5 separate regions of the Homo sapiens genome follow, and regions 1, 2, 4 and 5 are each linked to region 3. Evidence: promoter capture Hi-C in 16 types of primary human blood cells and fetal thymus (Javierre and others, 2016). All regions are on one chromosome and are shown on one strand. The core of a region is centred on a gene start or on the middle of the fragment in contact, and the rest is flanking DNA. Distances in the headings are between cores, read along the strand shown. Region 1 has its middle 310 kb from the start of G2E3. Region 2 has its middle 300 kb from the start of PRKD1. Region 3 holds the start of FOXG1 (forkhead box G1). Region 4 has its middle 270 kb from the start of PRKD1. Region 5 has its middle 220 kb from the start of G2E3.

Region 1 (2,866 bases), core at 255-2,754, 1.5 Mb after region 3:
TAAATTATGACTGTTGTATGCTTTTACAAAATCAGATGCTTAAAAAAAGAATTGATAACACAAAAGGACAAATATTGCATGATTCCATTTATGTGAAGTACCTAGTCAAATTCATAGACAGAAAGTAGAATAGGGTTATCAAAGGTGGAGGGAGCAGGTAATGGGGAGTTACTGTTTAGTGGGTATGGAGTTTCAGTTTGGGAAGATGAAATTGTTCTGGAGATTTATAGTGATTATGTTTGCACAACAGTGTGAATGTACTTAATGTCACAGAATCGTACACTTAAAAATAGTTTAAAATGGTAAATTTTGTGCTATGTATATTTTCCCCAATTAAAAAAAAGTATGTATAAATGGCCAATAAACATTTGGGAAAAAATGAAAAAATTATAGAGTTAATCCAATATTAGGGTTAAAAAATACCCTTGTCCATAATTTTGGACACAAAGTCAAATAATATATTACAATTTTTAGTCTTAATGTGCATGATGCCCAAAACTTTAAGACTTTTATTTTGAGTATTGTTTTATCAAAAAGTCCCATATTAATCTTAGATAAACTCTTGTTTTCAGACTTAGGAACCAAACGATTATATCATATCACTAAATATTGGCTATCTTTATAACTAAATGTTCACTTCGGTGCCTCAGGAAGTCTAATGAAACCACCGTGATCAGCACTCCTAGCAAGGCTATCTTCTTTTTTAGAATGCATCCGTGCCTTGTATCAGATAAGTGAAGAGAACCTTATCAAGACAAATTGTGGCTAATGCATTCTCCTTTATGCATTTCTGGGCTAATGACCAGCCCCATTAAATATCACGCCAAATGGATTGGAAGTGCCACTGAGTGGGAAGAAGAAGACATTTTCCTCCTGCATAAGCACAGCCAATACAAACATCACCAAGACGAGGGCTGCTTTGCCATTTTCTTCCACATTCTGAGGTGTTCCTTTCACGTCTCGGGAGGTAGGAAACTAATAACCTGTCCGCAGAGACTCCAAACAAGCAAATGCTCTTTGTTGTTAGCTAGAATTAGGCTAACAGCAAATTTGATCTTTGGTTTTGAGGCCTTACCTCTTTACCCAAAAGTTAACTCTGATTTCAAATTGCTCCACTTCTCTGTTTTGTCAAGAAGCAGCAACAATCTACCACCACCACTGTTATTATGGCATTTCAATCACCTCGTTTCATTGTGATTTGAGAAAACACTTTGTTGAAACCCAAAGGAAAATCTGCCACGTTTCCATTCAGACATATGGCAGAAAAAAACCTTAATAACCAGTAATCAGAGTCGGCCTTCTTTGGGTGGAATCTGCTGCGGACAAAACAATTTATGCTGCATTGGATGAAAATAGTTCATCGATGCTATTCTCCAAGAGATACTAAAATAACTCCTTCTCATCTGATATCCCAAAACTGGGGGAGAAAGAGTTCAGATAATGTTGGGATCGATAAAGTCACAAAAGCAGAGTCATGTAGGAAATACATCTTGAAATTACTATCTTGCTCTTTTTATCACAGAACCAGCCAAAGGCCATTATAAAGGGTAGCATTACAACAAGTTTTAGTTCAGAGAATCATCGAAATTAAACATAACAAAGATATAATATATATCTCCCTAGATAGTGATTGCAATGATCGACAATCTGAAGTGTTTTTTTCTTTCAGAAAAGAACCTCTGATTATTCCTCATGGCTTAAATAATTCAGAATAGTGAATCATCAAAACTTATCTTTTAATATATTTTGAACGACATTTGAATATGAATATATAGTTTATAGAAAATTAGCTTAAGCAAATTAATGAGGCCTCATTAAAGTCCAAACTAGGTGAAATGGAGAAATACCCTCTTTCTTCATTATATATCAGACTTCATAACCTTCCATTCTCAGAATAGCCTCTCTTTCTGCCCATGCCTTATCACCCCCTCATACAAAAGTGCCCCTCTATCAAACTTTTCCAGAGATACGTGTTTCAATATCAAAGGTTTTCTCTGGATGCACAGACAATAGTGGGAGTTCTTATGTCAACAAAGCAAAAAGTAGGTAGTAGTTGTTTTCACTGACAATAGAGTATATCAGTATTTCCCAAACTTGGTTAGACATTAGAATGACCCAGAAAGCCCTTAAAAACTTGATGCTCAGGTTATATTCCACAGTAACTAAATCAAAATTTCTGTAAGTAGGATCCAAACAACAGTATTTTTTAAAGATCCCCAGGTAATTCCAGAACACAACCAAGTTTAGGAAGCATTGCCGTACCTATTAGAAATCAAACTTTGTTATTAATTATAGGCCAATAAGCTATCTCTTCATAGCAATAATCAACAATTGGCATTGTTTTGATTTCTTAGCATTATTAACTCAATGCCATACTATGGCCCCACTAAACATTTTCTCATAAAATATTTTATCATTATGGCTTCATTTCTGCTACCATGTTTTTTAACAGGGCCAGCATGGACTCTACCAACAGGAAAAAGTGTATTCACGGTGCCCCCTACCCCACAAAGGATTTATTTTTCCAGAATGGTTGTATGTTTTAAATGTTTAGTTTTCTAATATGGTTTGGGTTCTAGTACATTAGAGAGGAAGACCCAAACCACACCAATTGTAACATTTTATGTTTGTTTTCAGACTCCAAAAACTTCACTACTACATGGAAACATTGCACTTAACCTTTATTTTGCATCTTCCATTTTCTAGCTCATGCAAATGTCTTTCATTCAAAACTCTTCTTCCCCGTATTTCCATTAGTGATTTATGTCAATATAGCATTTTAATATGTATTTCCAGCACCCATTAACTTTTGTAAGAAAATTAATTTTTATGTTTTGATTAGAAAAATTTTAAAATTACCAGAGAA
Region 2 (3,043 bases), core at 246-2,745, 1.5 Mb after region 3:
TGCTTCCCCTAAAATACAGGTGGTCCTTGGCTTATGATGAGGTTGTCTGGACATAGCCCCATAGTGAGTCAAGGAGCGTACTGAATGTGTATTGCTTTTGTACCACCATGAAGTCGAAAAATCATTAAGTCTAACTGTCATAAGTCAGGGACCATCTGTACTTAAGTCTTAAACAAGAGGGACAATTGCCCAGCATCCTGAGCTCAGACAGTGGGTAGGAAAGTTTTACCAAACACACTGCTGACTTTCTTGAGCCTTTCAAAGATATGAAATGGTGCTTTGTAACAGTAAGTTGAAAGCTGACATGATGTTATTTCTTTGAAGACTTTGTGAATAGCTATGTTCTCTGCCTTTTTATTTCCCTACTACCTAATACATAGAAAGTTCTTACTACTATTTTTTCTGCTGTGTTGAGAGACTCTTGTTTTCCACCATCACATTTTGACTTTCTTCCTCTGTGATCCTTAACTTACTCCACCTACAGTATAGTCATTTGAACACTCGTCTAACTCCCAACCTACCCCTACTCTTTCCATTCTCAAATAAAGCACCTTGAGGGCAGGGCCTATGTCTTTTTCATCTCAGAATCCTCCAAACTAACTGGCAAGGTGACTGGTACAATAAATTTAGTATTTGTTGAACTGAAGCCTTCTGAAAGTGTCCTTAAAAGCAACTCTGTGGGAATAAACATCGGAGTATAAGTAGAGATCTGATAGCGGAAGGTGAATAAAGTTTAAATTTCTCAGATGTGCATACCAGGCTCTTGGGCATAATGAGGTTTTTGTTATCAGTGTGAGACAAGCAGCTAAAATGAGAACTTATTTCTTTAAAACTTGGTTGTTTATTGCTTCTTATTGTTCATTTGGGTAAATTTTGTTTCTCCTCTTGGTTGGCAAGCTCCTTTAATATGACCTATGCATCAAATTGATACTATGATAATATTATATATCATATTGCTAGAATATGATATTACTCATGATACATGATATTATATTTGATGCATAGGACATATTAAACAATGTTTGATTAAAGAAGGGAATGTAGGTGACCAAAAAATCTAGGAAATATTGTTTTTTAATACATAAATTACAATAAGAGATCAGTTGATACTGTAGCACAGGGTTCTGGACTATAGTCTGCAAAGGTTGAAAAGAAGAAGACTGAAAAGATGTATACTTATGGTTGTTCTGCTCTACAGTTTATTCAAAAAATTGATAGTGGTTTAAAAAACCTAGTTTATTCCACATTTATTCATTCCAAAAGTAAGGTCTTTAAACATTATCAGGGTTTACTCATCAGTGTTGATGCTGTTGTTCACATAAGAGCATCATTACGTCATTTACTCACTGACTGAGGGAATAACTTGGTTGAATTATTTTCCCTGTTTGATTTAAGTGAGGAAACTGCGCACACCATTTCTGTTTATTTTACGCACAAAGCCTAATAATATAGTTATTCTACAAAACATGAAATATTTTCAAGAATGTGTTTAAGATAAAAAAAAAGATCCTTATATGATAATCCATACTAAAACAGAGGTCAACACTGTCTTCTTCCTCCACAGCTCAAAATAAAGGAAAGATTCACTTTTATACAAACGTGACTTTACAAATGCTGCTCCCTTCGTTTCAGTTGTTTCTCAACCATTCTTTGCCACCTTTTCTGTGAAATATTATCTGACTTTTACTTTCTACTCAAAAATAGCCCACTGTTTCCTCCATGGTCCCATAACATGTTTTACGTACTTTTATTATAGAACTTCATTAATGAACTTATCCATTCATTCAACAACTATAGTGTGGCTTACCATTTTTCAGCCATCATGTGTGGCATCAGGAATATGGTGAGAATCATGATGTCAGCTCATCCAATGATGGTGTGATTGTTTTTCTCTGTCTCTCCCATGCCATACACACCTTAAGTATGAAGAGGTAATCTGTTCAATCAACTGAATGAGCCAAGGGCAGAAGATAAAGCCCACAGCCTCGTCTAGGACGCCTCCACCTTCTCTTGTTGGAATCCTTTTTCTCCTTCTGCTCTAAAGTTAACATTTCTGCTCCTTCCTCTACTCCTCTCCTGTGACCATTCCTGATACAATCTCACTCATCATGCATAAAATAAAGCCCATTATTTTCTCTATTCAAACATTCACCATCTCCCCAGTTTCTCAAGACAAACCTGAAGTTCATCTTCAACTTCCATCTTTCCCTAGCCTCCTTACTAAACTACTATTGTGTTCACCCTCCTCTCTAGATTTCCACTGGCCCTACTTTAGTTTTCTTTTCATCTGCCTGCACTATGTCCATACATCTTCATTGATCGTGCTGATTGTGATCTATCCCCACACCCATTCATTTTCTACTTCATGCCAGAGTTTTCTCTCTAAAATACGAATCACATAATTTATTTCTTACCACCCCTCTCCTCATTAAAAGTTACTGATGGCTTTTCATCACCTTCATAATCCAGTATGAAGAGATCCAGGCCACTCTCTTAGAGCACATAAGACTCTTCACGAGTTGGCCTCCCTTTTTGCCAAACTCTCTAAACTCACATTTTTCTCACTCCCTCTGCTCAAAAACATACACTAAGGTAGCTAGGGTTGCCTTTAGGATAATATGATTGTGAAAGTCCAAGTCCTCTCACATGTCATATGCCACGCTACTTAGGGAACTAAATAAAGGATGAGAACTTTGTCAAGCTCTGTCCAAGGGAAAGTGATTCTCTTCTTATGGACATGGATATTTCAATCACTATAACAGAATAAGAAAAACAATGAACATCATGAATTAAGTTGGGGCATCTTTTGAAAACTTTCTTTCCTTTCAGGACACTCAGCTCTTGTGCAGACTGTTTCTGTGATTTCTAGGACAATCATGGAATTTTAAAACTAGAGGATATACTAATATAATCTAATCCAATCTCTTCATTTCACAGGTGAGAAAACTCAAGCCCCAAACACTAAGAGATTTTTCCAAGCTCACACAACAAGTAAATATCCTTTTCCTTCCTCAGCCTCAACAAAAATAAAAGGAAATGGATT
Region 3 (3,036 bases), core at 537-3,036:
GAGTATTCATCAACCGCATTCTTTATGTTACAATTTAACTTTAGGATCAAGCATAAGCACCAATTTTCCTTCCTTCGTTTTCTTAAATACCAAATCTGCCAGATATCTTAATGAAAGTTTATCCAAGTGAAGAAATGCTTACATTTTATAATTATTTACCTTCTAGAGGAAGGAAAAGGTGCCTTTCATTTATGCTTCTCCACCTCCCTCTTCTCTGGGGCTACATCCTCCGTAAAATGTGGTATGTTTCGTGCCCATGTGGGATGAAACAGCCTTTGATCAATGTGCTCCCCACTAAATTCCAATCCCTGGGAAATGCTGGGCCTTAGCCCTGCCCCTGGCCACGGGATCCTTTTAAAGCCCCCGATTCGCAATTTCCCCATTCACTTCAACCTCCAACCGAACCTTCCCAGTTCCAAAGCCCAAGAAGCTGGGACTGTGAGATCCACGTTCCCAAGGCTCCCCGGTGCTTTCCAGCAGCACTCAGGGTTGGCAAGAGCTGGCTTCAGTATACTGTTATTTCAGGAATGAGGCCCGCACAAAATAAAAGCATTTGAGAAACGGAAAGGAAAAAAAAGGAGTGAAAATAGGAAGGCTTAAAAAAAAAACCGGAAAGAAATAGACGCCCACCCTTATTTTCCCTCCAATGTCAACAAGCAAAACGAAAATATTTCCAGGGTGATCGCTCGCAGCTACCCGCTTCCAATTCGGATTAGAAGCTGAGGCTGGAGCGGCGAGGAGAAAACGACATCGAGTCACCCCGCGCGTGAGCGACGCTCTGGAGCAGGAGAGAAGGAAAAGGAAGAGACACACGTATATAGCATGTGTTACCTGATTTATTTCGAGATTGTTTGGTACTGTTTTCTCTCTGGGCACCTCTCATTTCGGAAGGCCATCAGAGGCGCCCACTACTGAGCGGCCCCGGCCGCCGCAGCAGCACCCGGAGCCCCAGTCCCGGTTTCCCCGCGGTGCCGGAGCCCGGAGCTCGCCGCCGCCCAGGCCTCAGGAATCGAGTAAGTAACCCCTGTTTGGCCCCGCGCTCCTCTGCCCACTTCCTCCTCCTCATCTCATCGCTCCCAAAGCTCTCCCACACCCTCCTCCCCCGAAGTAAAGGACACCCCCGCACACACGCCAGCGGTGGGCCTTATCTCCCCCCTTATCCAAAGCTGCGCTAGACTATTACCTACAAAGGGCACAATTTTCCTGCTGGCTCAGAAATGCCAGACACTGGCCTGCAAGGCCGACTCGGAAAAGTAGTGCCTCGCCTCTACCTCCTCCATTTCCTGCCCTCTCGCATCCTCTCCCTGCACTCCCACTCTTCCCACTACCACCACCACCCCCGCTTTCAAAAATAAAATTGGATACAAACTTTAATCACTAAGGACAAATATTGACGCTTAAACGAAAATGACCCAGTACAATGAGGAGGAAGCCGGAAATGTGAGCTATTGGCCCTAGGAGGGGAATTTCGGTGGAGCGGAGCCGGCGGGGTGGAGGGGGTGGCGGGGGCGCAGGGAAGGGCTGCGGCACCGCGTGCTCCCGCCGGCGTATCCCTACGCGGCTCCGCGCGGCCTCGGGGTCCGAGGCCCGCGGAGAGGGGGAGGCGAGCGCCCGAGGGGGCGGCAGCCGGCGGGCGGGGCGGGGGTGGGTGGGCCCGGCCCCTCCGATTGGTCGACGGCGAGAGAGACGCTCCCGCACGCCGCCAGCTCTGATTGGCCCAGCGGTAGGAAAGGTTAAACCAAAAATTTTTTTACAGCCCTAGTGTGCGCCTGTAGCTCGGAAAATTAATTGTGGCTATAGCCGCCTCGATCGCTGTCTCCCCAGCCTCGCCGCGGCCGCTCCGGGACGCGCCCGCCCGCCGCCCGGCTCTCCCCCCCTTTGGGCTGCTGCTGCTGCTGCTGTGACTGCTGCTGCGAGAGGAGGAGGAGGAGGAGGAAGCAGCGGGGGGGGGAGCGGGGGGTGGGGGGGGAGACCAAGAAGTACAGTTGGGAGCGAGGGAGCTTCACCCCCGGGGCGGTGGTTGTTTCTTTTTTCTTTCTTTCTTTTTTCTTTTCCTTTTTTTTTTTTTTTCTAATTCCTGAGGGGTGGTTGCTGCTTTTGCTACATGACTTGCCAGCGCCCGAGCCTGCGGTCCAACTGCGCTGCTGCCGGAGCGCTCAGTGCCGCCGCTGCCGCCCGCGCCCCCCGCGCCCCGTTCGGCACCCACCGGTCGCCGCCGCCCGCCGCGCCGCTGTCCCGCTCCCGCGCCGCCGCCGCCGTTTCCCCCCGACGACTGGGTGATGCTGGACATGGGAGATAGGAAAGAGGTGAAAATGATCCCCAAGTCCTCGTTCAGCATCAACAGCCTGGTGCCCGAGGCGGTCCAGAACGACAACCACCACGCGAGCCACGGCCACCACAACAGCCACCACCCCCAGCACCACCACCACCACCACCACCATCACCACCACCCGCCGCCGCCCGCCCCGCAACCGCCGCCGCCGCCGCAGCAGCAGCAGCCGCCGCCGCCGCCGCCCCCGGCACCGCAGCCCCCCCAGACGCGGGGCGCCCCGGCCGCCGACGACGACAAGGGCCCCCAGCAGCTGCTGCTCCCGCCGCCGCCACCGCCACCACCGGCCGCCGCCCTGGACGGGGCTAAAGCGGACGGGCTGGGCGGCAAGGGCGAGCCGGGCGGCGGGCCGGGGGAGCTGGCGCCCGTCGGGCCGGACGAGAAGGAGAAGGGCGCCGGCGCCGGGGGGGAGGAGAAGAAGGGGGCGGGCGAGGGCGGCAAGGACGGGGAGGGGGGCAAGGAGGGCGAGAAGAAGAACGGCAAGTACGAGAAGCCGCCGTTCAGCTACAACGCGCTCATCATGATGGCCATCCGGCAGAGCCCCGAGAAGCGGCTCACGCTCAACGGCATCTACGAGTTCATCATGAAGAACTTCCCTTACTACCGCGAGAACAAGCAGGGCTGGCAGAACTCCATCCGCCACAATCTGTCCCTCAACAAGTGCTTCGTGAAGGTGCCGCGCCACTACGACGACCCGGGCAAGGGCA
Region 4 (2,889 bases), core at 249-2,748, 1.4 Mb after region 3:
TGTGAGCCCCTTTGCCCGCCACCATGTGAGGACACAGCCAGAAGGCGCCATCTCTGAGGAACAGGCCCTCACCAGATATGAAATCTGCTGGCACCTTGATCTTGGACTTACTAGCCTCCAGAACTACGAGAAATAAATTTCTGTTGTTTGTACATGACACAGACTCAGGTAGACTATTATAACAGCCCAAATGGACTAACACATGTGTTAATGACCCAAATGATCTCAAGATAGCTGCCTGTTGTCCAGAAGTAATTAAGACACTGTGTCATTTATGAGCACATTGCCTACACATTTGAAGTCACCAAAAGCATTTCTAAACTCAGGGTCCTTCTGCCTGACACGAACCCATAATGGCAGTTCTAGAACCAACTCTGCTGCTGACTAGCTGGGTCAATGCAGTAAAGTTACTTGGCCTCTGCATACCTTAGTCTTATCATTTATAAAGTGGAGGTAATAATAGCATCTACCTCTGAGGATTAAATCAGTTAATAATATAAAACCTCAGAACAGGGCTTGACACATAGTAAGAATTCCAGAGAACAGCTGTGGGAAAGTTTGAGTTCTATAATGGAAGAGTCCCATTTCAAAATATAGGCTTCTCTGTGTAGGGCTACTGCCACTCACTCCTAATTCTTTGCCTCTGAAGTGCAGCTTACTTGGAAAGGTACATGAGTCAAACTATGTTATCCGCAACCTAAAAAGGATGAGGTAGGGCAGGGAGGAATATGAATTCCCAGCAAAATCTGTATGTCTTGTCTGTGAAGAAAGCTGTATGCCACCAGGGAGTATTGACTTTTTTTCTTTCTTCATACTGATGGATCTTGAATTTCCAAACCACAGGCCACCTTGTCCCTTGGTATTAATGTCACAGGCCAGAGCTGTGATACATTTTATTATTAAAGGTGGGCTTTGCGTAAGCCTTAGATATTAGTTCTCAAAGCCTCCCACATGACTACATGAGAGTATTTGCAGAGCACCCTAAAAAATATATCTTCTGAGCCCCACCTCTGCATATTTTCATTCAGGAATTGTTGGGGTGGGGCATGGGATCTGGCAATTCTGAGGCATAGTCCAGGTTTGAGAACTGCCTTTTTTATTCATCTAAGAAGAAATATCCATATTCTCTAGGAGTATTAATTTTCTACATCTAATTACACTGATGAGTCTTTGAGTTACCTAGGCTGTTGGAGAATTTCTTTATCATGTTCCTAAGAGACCACTCCTCAGAACTCATCAACCGCAATCACACGTTGCATTTAACAGCAAGAAGTCTAGCCTAGCCATCTGATATGGTTTGGCTGTGTCCCCACCTAAATCTCATCTTTAAATGTAGCTCTCGTAATTCCCACATGTTGTGGGAGGGACCTGGTGGGAAATAACTGAATCATGGGGGTGGTTTCCCCCATACTGTTCTTGTGATAGTGAATAAGTCTCACAAGATCTGATGGTTTTATAAGGAGAAACTCCTTTCACTTGGTTCTCATTCTCTCTTGTCTGCCACCATGTAAGATGTGCCTTTTGTCTTCCACCATAACTGTGAGGCCTCCCCAGCCACATGGAACTGTGAGTCCATTAAAACTCTTTTTCTTTGTCAATTACCCAGTCTCGGGTACGTCTTTATCAGCAGTGTGAAAACAGACTAATACACCATCTTACAGACCATAATAGATCTCTGCAGATTCATTTTCTCCTTCCCTCTAATCTCATGGTCACAGTTTTTGGCAGGACTGACCCATCTCTAGCTCCAGTGTTGTTGTAGAAAGGGTGCTGAATGGCTCAAGCACATCTATGTGTCCTATCTCCTTGACCACATGGGTGGATATGAATTTAATTTGGGCAAATGTTTTATTTTTAGAGGATTCTTGAAAGGGAGGTTTTTCTCCCTCTCTCTCTCTTTCTCTCTCAGTAACTACCATAAAAGACACTCTGTCCCACCAAAAATGAATGATAAAGCATTTAATACTACCCTGGATGCTGTTAACAGAGATCTTGAAACTATGAGGGAAGTTCACTTCAGAATAAAGTTTATAATGTGGAAAATCAAATAAAGATACAGAAACAACTCATATACCAAGTGATATCACTCAGCAACTAGATCAAGTCTCACCTGAAGCTCACCTTACCACTGAACATTAACTATATAAACCAAGAGATTTCTCCTATTATTAAACCTGATTCAAGTTGCATTTTATAGTCTTTAAAACAAAAGGCATCCTTAGTGATTCTTATCTGTATTTGTCCATTCTCATGCTGCTATAAAGAAATACCTGAGACTGGGCAATTTATAAAGAAAAGAGGTTTCATTGACTTAGAGTTCAGCATGGCTGGAGAGGTCTCAGGAAACTCACAATCATGGCAGAAGGGGAAGCAAATACATCCTTCTTCACTTGGCGGCGGAAAGGAGAAGTGCCCAGCAAAAGGAAGAAAAGCCCCTTATAAAACCATGAGATCTCATGAGAACTCACTCACTATCATGAGAACAGCAGCATGGGGGTAACCACACCCATTATTCAATTACCTCCCACTAGGTCTCTCCCATGACACGTGGGGATTATGGGAACTACAATTCAAGAGGATATTTGAGTAGGAACACAGCCAAACCATATCATCCCACCCCTGGCTCCTCCGAAATTTCATGTCCTCACATTTTAAAACAATCATGCCTTCCCAACAGTCCCCCAATGTCTTAACTCATTCCAGCATTAACCCAAAAGTCTAAGCCCAGCAGATCCAATGGTGCTTGGTGTGTCAGTGGTAGATACGGAAGCTGTTTGGCACCTCTGGCAGGCCCCCATAGGTGGACTGAAGCAGAGGCCTCTAGGATTTTGCAGCAAGGCCCTGTTATCTTCTGGAGATAACTCCTCTTCTTTTGAGAGGCAACTCTTG
Region 5 (3,270 bases), core at 187-2,686, 1.6 Mb after region 3:
AAATCTGTGAAATGATCACCTCTAGTAAATTTCTATTTTTAAATCTATTGAGTGAAGTGAAAAGCGTTTCACTATCAGTACCTTATTCTTTAATTATAAAGCGCTATTGAGTTTCAGTTATCATCTCAAAGAGATGGAGGAAAAGGGAAATAAGTTCTAAGTTAATACTTTCCATGTTGCTGGTGGGCCAGGGAGGAGGAGGTGAATTCATTTTCCATATGTGATAATATATTTTAGCAGAAATCCTTTGTTTCATTTTCGTTTTTAATTTGAATTGACAGCATAAACAATAGCCTGGATTCCTGCTTCCTGCTAAGCTATTTATTTTTGTAAGACCTATGTTGTCATATTAAGACTCTTTAATTTTTTTCTGATTACTCAATAAATCTCTGGTACTGACGGAATTCATGCCATTTATTCCTATACATCACAAATTAGTTGATTATATAATATTAACATATAAATGATAGTATTTTAATTTTGTGTGTGTGTGTGTGTGACAGAGTCTTGTTCCATCGCCCAGGCTGGAGGGCAGTGGCACGATCTCGGCTCACTGCAACCTCCACCTCCCGGGTTCAAGCGATTCTCCTGCCTCAGCCTCCTAGGTAGCTGGGATTACAGGCGCCGCCACCACATCCGCTAACTTTTGTATTTTTAGTAGAGACGGGGTTTTACTATGTTGGTCAGGCTGGTCTGGAACTCTTGACCTCGTGACCCACCTACCTCAGCCTCCCAGAGTGCTGGGAATACGGGCGTGAGCCATTGCGCTCGGCCAGTATTTTAACTTTTATGAAAAATGCTTCCAATGTTTTCCAAACATTAAGATATATCGGCCTGGCTTGGTGGCTCACGCCTGTAATCCCAGCACTTTGGGAGGCCGAGGGAGGGGGGGGGTGGGTCACCTGAGGTTAGGAGGTCGAGCCCAACCTGGCCAACATGGTGAAACCCTGTCTCTACTGAAAACACAAAAATTAGCCAGGCGTGGTGGCGGGCGCCTGTAATCTCAGCTACTCGGGAGGCTGAGGTGGGAGAATTGCTGGAACCCGGGAGACGGAGGTTGCAGTGAACCAAGATCGCACCATTACACTCCGACCCGGGACAACAACAGTGAGACTCCATCTCAAAAAAAAAAAAAAATAATAATAATAATAAATAAAAGATATATCACTACTCGCAAAGTCTTAACTAAGATTGTTCCCTACATTGAAGCCACTATTTTCTCGCTGATAATCACGCTCTCAAAGCCCTAAAGGGTTGCACAAATTGTTACTCCCCATTATCTCTTTCTTAATATCTGGCCATTTATTTTTATCATCATCTCTGTCTTAAAAATTCAGCTGTCTGAGTTTTCTTTTTAACCTTTTCCAATCAACAGTACCTCCCAAAAATGAGGAATAAGGAGAAAGAGGAAAAGAAGCAAAAATAGAAGAAAAGTTTTGAAAGTTTGTTTCTAGTGGCTTTGATGAGCAGTTAAAAATAACCAACTTTGTGCTTTTGAATTTGCTGGCGTTGCTTGACAAGAATGGGTGGGGGCCCAGGAAGCAGTCGTTGGACCTCTGGCTCTCTGCTCATCTGTTACTGTATTTACCCAGAGAGTGCTAAAGCAACATCGCTGAATACTTGGTCACAACCTCTTTCCTGTTCTTCTTGTTCTACTGCCTCAATTTGGCCTCAGAAAAAGTGAGGGAAAAGAGGAATTAAGAAGTACAAAATGGGGGGCGGGGAGATCCCCGCCCCATGGAATGGATCTTTGCCCTTTAAATATCCCATAAAGAGTTTTGGTTATCATACTTTGCAATCCTATTCAGTCCTTCAAAAATTTACTTTCAAAGAAAGATGTAAGCCCATAGAAAAGCATTCCACCTGATTCCCAGAACTTAGCACAAATTCTGGCATAATCCAGTCTTAGAAAAAATAATATAAAGAAGTATACAAGAGCTCAAATATAATATGAAATTGTAATAATACAAATGATATCAACAGGTTCTCCATGCTAAGTGCTTCAGAAATGCATCATTCTTTTTCTAAAGCTCTGTGGAGCTGAGACAAAATTCTTCCCCAAAACAGCAGAAAAAGTGAATGATGACTAACTAGAGTCATTTGCTCCCAATTTTCTGACCAGCCTGTGCTGTGTAGGAGCCCTGCCTCACTCCCACCTTTGGTGTTTGGGTCAAGACTCTGCAGGCAAGCCCTGTTATCTAGAAACCATATCTTAAGGTGTCAAGTGTCATAAAGCTGACCAACTTATAATCCTGTATTTGTCTCTCAAACACCCTTGGTTTTATCATGCATGGAAGCCATCTCACAAACAGCAAAGCAGAGAGGAATAAAGGTTTTTAAATATATATACAAAGCAGAGAGGAATAAAGGTTTTTAAATATATATATATATAATCAGGCCACATTGAAAGAGCTAAACACTGGACACTTAAGCAGCAAAAATCAGTGTGATATGTACAATAACAAGAGTAACTGCAAAACAAAAGTGTGTTTGTTCAATGACCCCACTCTAAATAATCCTACTCTCTAAAGTTGCAAATAAAGAATAAATAAGACTATGTGCCATGTTCTCCTTTATTCTTGATGCTGTCCAGAATAGGTAAATTGTCCTGTTTTAAAGTCGGGTCTCTTACTAAAAAAGCCAAGGTCTCAATGCAGGATTGACGGTAGTCACACGAAGTTAAGGGGTTGGTTGATACCTGGTAAAGATTATGTGAGCTGGGCCATCAAGTTAGTTTATTTCAAAGACCCCCAAATATGTGGTCTGTCCTCAAAAAAATAAACATTTTTAAAACCAAAATTGTATAAAATATACACCGAATACAAGTTAAACTAAGGAAGAACAATAGTGACATTAACTATGCCATCAGCCCAGACACTCACCCACAGAGCTAGAATCTTCTGAGCTCATTTTAATGACTGTTAAGTCTTTCACTAAAGCTTCAATACATCAAATATATTCATTATCTTCCAGGTTTTCAGGAGCTAATTACTAACGTGATCTTCTCCTGAAATACTGTGCTTTTAAGTTAAAACAGACAAATTCAGTGCAACATAAGCTGGTTCTGTGGAGGTTATCTCAATGCTCTGAAATTCTTACTCATCTGCTTTGGCTATGTAAGTGGTGACCCAGTGCCCTTATCTGGGTCATCATTTCACAAAAAGCCAACTTAGTTACTTGATTTAAAAAAAGAAATTCAAGTACAGAGTCTGAATAGTAAATATTTCTATTCGAAGTGTGAACACAAACATGTTTCCTTAACAGTTTATC

The links. Contacts are between HindIII fragments. The CHiCAGO score rates a contact against its expected background, and 5 or more counts as called.
Region 1: a fragment that was not itself captured here is called in contact with the fragment with the promoter of FOXG1 in region 3 in 1 of 17 cell types (M2 macrophages); the score reaches 6.0 in M2 macrophages.
Region 2: a contact is called between a fragment that was not itself captured here and the fragment with the promoter of FOXG1 in region 3, in 1 of 17 cell types (M2 macrophages). The highest score is 7.0, in M2 macrophages.
Region 4: a contact is called between a fragment that was not itself captured here and the fragment with the promoter of FOXG1 in region 3, in 1 of 17 cell types (erythroblasts). The highest score is 5.8, in erythroblasts.
Region 5: a contact is called between a fragment that was not itself captured here and the fragment with the promoter of FOXG1 in region 3, in 1 of 17 cell types (M2 macrophages). The highest score is 5.2, in M2 macrophages.

Annotation. Positions count from the first base shown.
Region 1 is chr14:30,246,415-30,249,280 of GRCh38, forward strand. No RefSeq gene overlaps it. Among named protein-coding and RNA genes, the nearest start is that of G2E3, 310 kb to the right of the region's middle. The HindIII fragment of the contact is 3,706 bases long and covers 1-2,866 here.
Region 2 is chr14:30,229,595-30,232,637 of GRCh38, forward strand. No RefSeq gene overlaps it. Among named protein-coding and RNA genes, the nearest start is that of PRKD1, 300 kb to the left of the region's middle. The HindIII fragment of the contact is 4,964 bases long and covers 1-3,043 here.
Region 3 is chr14:28,765,001-28,768,036 of GRCh38, forward strand. It overlaps FOXG1 (forkhead box G1), which reads left to right and starts at 1,787. Exons shown (of 1, transcript NM_005249.5): 1 at 1,787-3,036. The coding sequence starts at 2,280. FOXG1-AS1 (FOXG1 antisense RNA 1) reads right to left here and starts at 319. Exons shown (of 7, transcript NR_125758.1): 1 at 160-319. RefSeq lists an enhancer at 918-1,442. The HindIII fragment of the contact is 9,211 bases long and covers 1-3,036 here.
Region 4 is chr14:30,196,520-30,199,408 of GRCh38, forward strand. No RefSeq gene overlaps it. Among named protein-coding and RNA genes, the nearest start is that of PRKD1, 270 kb to the left of the region's middle. The HindIII fragment of the contact is 3,893 bases long and covers 1-2,889 here.
Region 5 is chr14:30,336,025-30,339,294 of GRCh38, forward strand. No RefSeq gene overlaps it. Among named protein-coding and RNA genes, the nearest start is that of G2E3, 220 kb to the right of the region's middle. The HindIII fragment of the contact is 3,002 bases long and covers 1-2,937 here.